2 separate regions of the Homo sapiens genome follow, and region 1 is linked to region 2. Evidence: promoter capture Hi-C in 16 types of primary human blood cells and fetal thymus (Javierre and others, 2016). All regions are on one chromosome and are shown on one strand. Each heading gives the region's core, a stretch centred on a gene start or on the middle of the fragment in contact. The rest is flanking DNA. Distances are from core to core; before and after follow the strand shown.

The links. Contacts are between HindIII fragments. The CHiCAGO score rates a contact against its expected background, and 5 or more counts as called.
Region 1: a fragment that was not itself captured here is called in contact with the fragment with the promoter of CHRNA10 in region 2 in 2 of 17 cell types (M2 macrophages and M1 macrophages); the score reaches 5.6 in M2 macrophages.

Annotation. Positions count from the first base shown.
Region 1 is chr11:3,817,952-3,820,943 of GRCh38, reverse strand. All of the region lies in intron 3 of PGAP2 (post-GPI attachment to proteins 2), which reads right to left. Among named protein-coding and RNA genes, the nearest start is that of PGAP2, 11 kb to the right of the region's middle. RefSeq lists a silencer at 794-985. The HindIII fragment of the contact is 1,508 bases long and covers 869-2,376 here.
Region 2 is chr11:3,669,759-3,672,633 of GRCh38, reverse strand. CHRNA10 (cholinergic receptor nicotinic alpha 10 subunit) reads left to right here and starts at 1,250. Exons shown (of 5, transcript NM_020402.4): 1 at 1,250-1,382; 2 at 2,693-2,838. The coding sequence starts at 1,322. The HindIII fragment of the contact is 7,798 bases long and covers 1-2,875 here.

The DNA.
Region 1 (2,992 bases), core at 373-2,872, 150 kb before region 2:
TGGGTGACCTTGAGCAAGTCACTTCACCTCTCTGAGCTCCAATTTCCTCATTGGTAAAATGGGTATAACACCACCTACCTTGCAGGGTGTTTATGAATTCTCTTTATTTATTTATTTATTTGAGACAGGGTCTCGCTCTGTCACCCAGGCTGGAGTACAGTGGCATAATCTTGGCTCATTGCAACCTCCGCCTCCCAGGTTCAAGTGATTCTCGTGCTTCAGCCTGCTGAGTAGCTGGGACTAGAGGTGCCACCACACGCAGCTAATTTTTCTTTTTTTTTTTGAGATGGAGTTTCACTCTTGTTGCCTAGGCTGGAGTGCAATGGTGCGGTCTCAACTCATTGCAAACTCCACCTCCCAGGTTCAAGCAATTCTCCTGCCTCAGTCTCCCGAGTAGCTGGGATTACAGACGCCTGGCCTCTAATTTTTGTATTTTTAGTAGAGATGGGGTTTCACCATGTTGGCCAGGCTGGTCTTGAACTCCTGACCTTAAGTGATTCACCTGCCAAAGTGCTGGGATTACAGGCGTGAGCCAACATGCCAAGCCATATGAATTCTAAATATAACGTGTATAAAACATCTGCAGTATCTGGCATGCAGTTAAGTACAATAAGTGATGGCTTTCAGAAGACAAAATTTCCTGTAAAGAATGCAAAAACGCTGTGAGCTACATGGCCACAGAGCATGGGAAGGTCTGCTTATGGGAGAGACGCAGGAACCTCCAAGTCTCCTTACTTGATTTTTCTGCCTTGCTGTTACTCTGAGTTGAGTTAGTCAGAGCATTGCCTCTGCTTCCTGGAATATTCAATCTGAAAACTACTCCCCAGTCTCAGCTACTTTAAGGAAAACAGGACCACCATCTAAAGCTTGACTGGGAGAGCCTAAAGGATTCAAGGGCCCTGAACCCTGACCACTGTTGGGAACAGGTACTGGGGAGAAATGATACAGAGTTTGGGGAAGGCCTCAGGAGGAAGAGAGAGTTAGGGCATTGTGGCTGCTGGTCCTGTCTTCATGAGCTTCTCTCAGATTAGGGATGGGGGTGGGATTCTAAGAGCAGGGACTGTCTCTTCCATCATGTACACACACACGCACATATACACACAGACACATACACACAATCAGGTACATGTACTCCTACCGCCAGCCCCATTCCAGCACACAAGTTCCCCACTCATCGACTGCACCAGCAACAAGCAACATCAGGAGCTATGAGAAACTGGGTACACAGCTCACCCCAAACTTCCCCATGTGCCCAGAGCTAAGAGTACTGAGAGACGGGAGGATAAGCCCTTTCTGATAGGACAGTAGATCAGAAACTCATATGGTATAAAGCAGGGTTCCCCAAAATCCCCTTGCACGGCACCTCAGATTTCACCATAAGATTCATTCCTTTGGCCTCAGGTAAAAGTCCCCCCACATTATAGATGCCTTCTCTAGCTACCGTACTGTCCCCCGCCCCATGCCAACTGCACAAAAACTCCATTTGCTGTCAATCCCACTTTCTACACCTCTCTAGACTCCATCCCTCCTCTCTACGCTCACAGTCCGCATCTTGGCTCTGGTTCCCCCAGGAGCATGAGCTACTGCACCAGCCTCCTTATACCCTACTCTTGCCCCTGACCTTAAAGCTGTTCTCCACTCAGAAGCTAGAGTGGTCTTCTGAAGCACAAATCTCCAGCCTACACAACATGGCAAAACCCCATCTCTACAAAAAAAATATAAGAATTAGCCAGGCATGGTGGCATGCACCTGTAGTCCCAGCTACCCAAGGCTGAGGCTGAGGCGAGGAATCACCTGAGCCCAGGAGGTCAAGGCTGCAATGAGCCAAGATCAGGTCACTGTACTCCCGCCTGGGAGACAGAGTGAGATCCTGTCTCTAAATAAATAAATATGTAAAGCACAAATCTGATCATGTCCCTTTCCTGCCTAAAATCTTTCCAAAGCTCTTGATAAAAATTGCCCTCTGGATAATATCAAAAGTTGCCGGCCTGGCATTCACAAAGAGCCTTCTTTACCACAGAGCAACAATGTCCCCTCCTCCAAGAAGAAAGTGATCCCCAATGTCCAAGCTGCGTGAAGTGCCTCCTCTGAGCCCCACAGTCACTGTACTCTTTTTTTAATCATAATAGGAACCCCAGACCACTGTGTTGTGACAGTCTGTGTCTAAGGATTGATTCTTGTAACATTGAGATGTTAAGGGCAAGTCCATATCTAATTCCATGCCCCTAGCACAACAGAACCTTTATCCCTGGGCCCCCAGGAAAGGCCTAGTGGACTGATTGTGGGAGACAGAAGTCCATCCAGGTTTCTGGCTGGCAGATCCCTGAGTGGATACAGGTGGTGGGGCCTGGGGCTGCCAGTAGGAGAAACAAAGCTTGAGGATCCAGATCAGAGCTGAGGATGGATCCTCCAAGGTCAGTCCCCGAGTCTGGGCCAAAGCCACTTGTTACATCTCCCATCTTCTGGCCTCATTTTACCTCCTCAGTCCTGGCTTCCTTTCCAATCTGCCTCCTTCCTCTCATGATCTCTCCTGCCCATTCCAATCCCTTCTCTTCCCCTATCACCTCCCTCTAACCCCCAACTCCCTTGCACTGTTATTGTTTTTTTTTTTTTTTTTGGCACGATCTTGGCTCACTGCAACCTCTGCCTCCCGGGTTCAAGCAATTCTCTTGCCTCAAGCCTCCTGAGTAGCTGGGATTACAGGCACACATCACCATGCCCAGCTAATTTTTTTGTATTTTTTAGTAGAGACAGGGTTTTACCATGTTGGCCAGGCTGGTCTCAAACTCCTGACCTCAGGTGATCCTCCCACCTCGGCCTCTCAAAGTGCTGGGATTACAGGCATGAGCCACAGTGCACAGCCTGCTGTTTTTTTTTTTTTATTTTGTTTTGTTTTTGAGACAGGGTTTTACTCCTGTCACCCAGGCTGGAGTATAATGGTGTGAACTCAGCTCACTGAAATGTCCACCTCCCAGCCTCAAGCAATTCTCCT
Region 2 (2,875 bases), core at 1-2,500:
ACCTGAGGATAGCCTGGCTACCTTACTGGGACCACAGTGTAAATATTGTTGATGACCTGCTGTACCTTAGGCACCGTGCTAGACAGTGCCTTGCACTATCAGGTTATCTCATTTAAATCCTTGCAGTTTTCAAGATGAGTACTGTTAATCCCATTACCAGATTGAGAGAACAGAAACCCAGAGAGTTTAAATATCTTACCCAAGTGAGAGCGCTCATAAGACAGGGCCGAAAGTGACTGAATGCTTGCCCTCTTCTCCCACACTGCCCACAGTGTTTGGGCAAGGTGAAAAAACAGGCTCAGATGGGAATGACTGCAGGGAGTCTGAGGAGAGGATGTGGGCTCCATCTTCTGCTCCACTGGGTCATCTGGAGTGGCCTGAGGCTCAGCACTACTCCCACCAGGAGGGAAGGGCTTGCTTGACCCAAAGTGCCTAGCCTGGAGTGTCTAGTCCCGCACTGCAAGGAGAGCTGCAGGTCTAAGGCAAACCTCCACCTCCAGAATTCAGGCAATGGTGGCTAAGATGAGAGGACAGTTATCCATCCACTGACCCTGGCCCCTCACACTCTTAAGCCCTGGTCTTCCACATACCCTGACCCAGCATACCTGTACTCTCCAACACCCGAGGATGGGCCTGAGCTGAGTCTGTGTGCTGCTTTACAGAGTTTGAATAATTCAAGCCCCAGAGGCCCGAGGTATCAGTTTCCGTTGCTCTGTTGTCATAGGCACGGTGTAATTAAGCTAATGAAAGGGCAGAGAGGGAGGGGCTGTGGTCCTGTGCCTCGGACGACTCTGGGCTGATCAAGGGAGGAGTCCCTGGTCCCTGTTCTGCTGAGAGAGCAGCAGGCCCATCTAGAGTCCAGGTGTGGGGAATGGAAGAAGGAAGGAATGAGGGATGAAACAGAAGTAGGAGAAAGGGAGAGAGAGTGGAAAGAGGCAGGCAGGGGATGATCAGAGTCAGGGAGGCAGAGAGACCAAGAAAGTTACAGACGGAAAGAGAAGGAAGCAGAAACAGAGTGAAAGACAAAGCAGGTGGGGAGCATAGGAAAGGGCAGAGGCAGAGGCCAGAAGAGGCAAGGACCAGCAGAGAAGAAGAAAGACCAAGTACTAAAATCCAGGGGCAGGCACAAATTGGAGGGTCAGAAGACTGGAGGGGCTGCAGGGCTCGCTGGAGGGTGGCTGGACCCACCAGAGATCTGTCTTACTTCTGACTTCTAGGTACTGTCCACACCATCCTTGCCAGCTGGGCCTAATTTTGCCCTAGGTCTGGCCAGGAGGCCTCACATCCAGAGACCTGCCCCCGCTCTTGCAGTGCCAGGGCCATGGGGCTCCGGAGCCACCACCTCAGCCTGGGCCTTCTGCTTCTGTTTCTACTCCCTGCAGGTATGAAGCTCAGTACACCAGCCCTGGCCTCTCCTGGTGGTGCTACTATTCCTGTTCTCCCAAAATCCCTTTCCATGTAGTCTCTCTTGTGTTTCTCCTCAGTACCTGTTCTGAGAACAAGCTCTCTATTTGGGGAGTGTGGAGGAGAGGGGTGCTGAAGTGCGTGAGAGGAGACTTGCCTGGCTAGGGTGGAAACAGTGAGCGGGGAGCTTCCAGAGACAGGGCTGGGAAAATCAGAGGGGCCAGATGTTGAAGGGCCTGCCGGCCAGGCCAGGTCTTTCTCCTGCAGATGACGGGGAGCACTGAAAGGTTTCAGCAGCATACTAGCCTGGTCAGATGTGCATGCTTAAAAGCGTGGTCCTGGGGCATGGGAGGGGTAGAAGAAGGTGAGCCTTTGGGGAAAGGGAGACAGTGAAGGGAGGGCCCTGACCTGGAGGGGAGAGGGTAGACTCAAGACGATGTTTCGCAAAATCTGGAGGATTTGAATGATCTGACAGGATCTGGAGATTAACTGGATTCCCCGAGGAGGAGGCAGCAGAGGGAGAAGGGAGGGATAATTCCCAGATTTCCAACTAAGGTCACTGTTGAAGCTGAGGGCATGCTATTTGCTGAGATAGGGAACATGGGATAGGAAGCAGGTTTCAGAGCATGGAGGGAGGAAGCGAGTTCATATTTTGGACCCTCAGAGTTGAAGGTGCCTGTGGGAAACTCAGGAGTGGACTGTACTCTATTGGGGTCTGGAGCTCAGGAGAAAAATCTGGGATGAAGAAAAAGATGGGAGCCAAGGACAGGATTCATGGGAACAATGTTTAGGTCAGGGATTGAGGAAAATTTGTGTCAGTAAAGCCTGGGGAAGTGTGTTTTCAGAGTGAGGGAGTGTTCCATCGCATCAGAAGTTTTGAAGAAACCAGCTCGAGATGGAGAAGTGGAAACAGGTTTGAGAGATACTGGAGGGGGCAGAGCAGTGGGGTTTAGAATCCCTGGGTGAAAGTCTGGACTCTTGTGGCTTATTTGGGCCCCTCTAGCATTTGTGGAGAGGCAGGCAGACTCCAGGTCCTTGAAAAGGGGAGGGTGGAGGAGAAATTTGTCAGCCTGGCGCCAGAAGATAGTACCAGTTCACTCCATGGCCTTTACCTCATGTGTCCCTGCAGGCAGGCCAGGGAGGAACTAGAGCCACAGCTAGAGCAAGAGAAGGCAGACACCAGGAGGACACTCATAAGGACAGGGCCCCAGCCCTGGGAGTGGAGGGTGTGAGCAGAGGCCCTGGGACTAGGGCCTGGGATGGACAACCCTCCTTACTGACCCTCCAGAGTGCCTGGGAGCTGAGGGCCGGCTGGCTCTCAAGCTGTTCCGTGACCTCTTTGCCAACTACACAAGTGCCCTGAGACCTGTGGCAGACACAGACCAGACTCTGAATGTGACCCTGGAGGTGACACTGTCCCAGATCATCGACATGGTGCGTTGTGGTGGTGGTACAGCTGTGGAGTCTTACC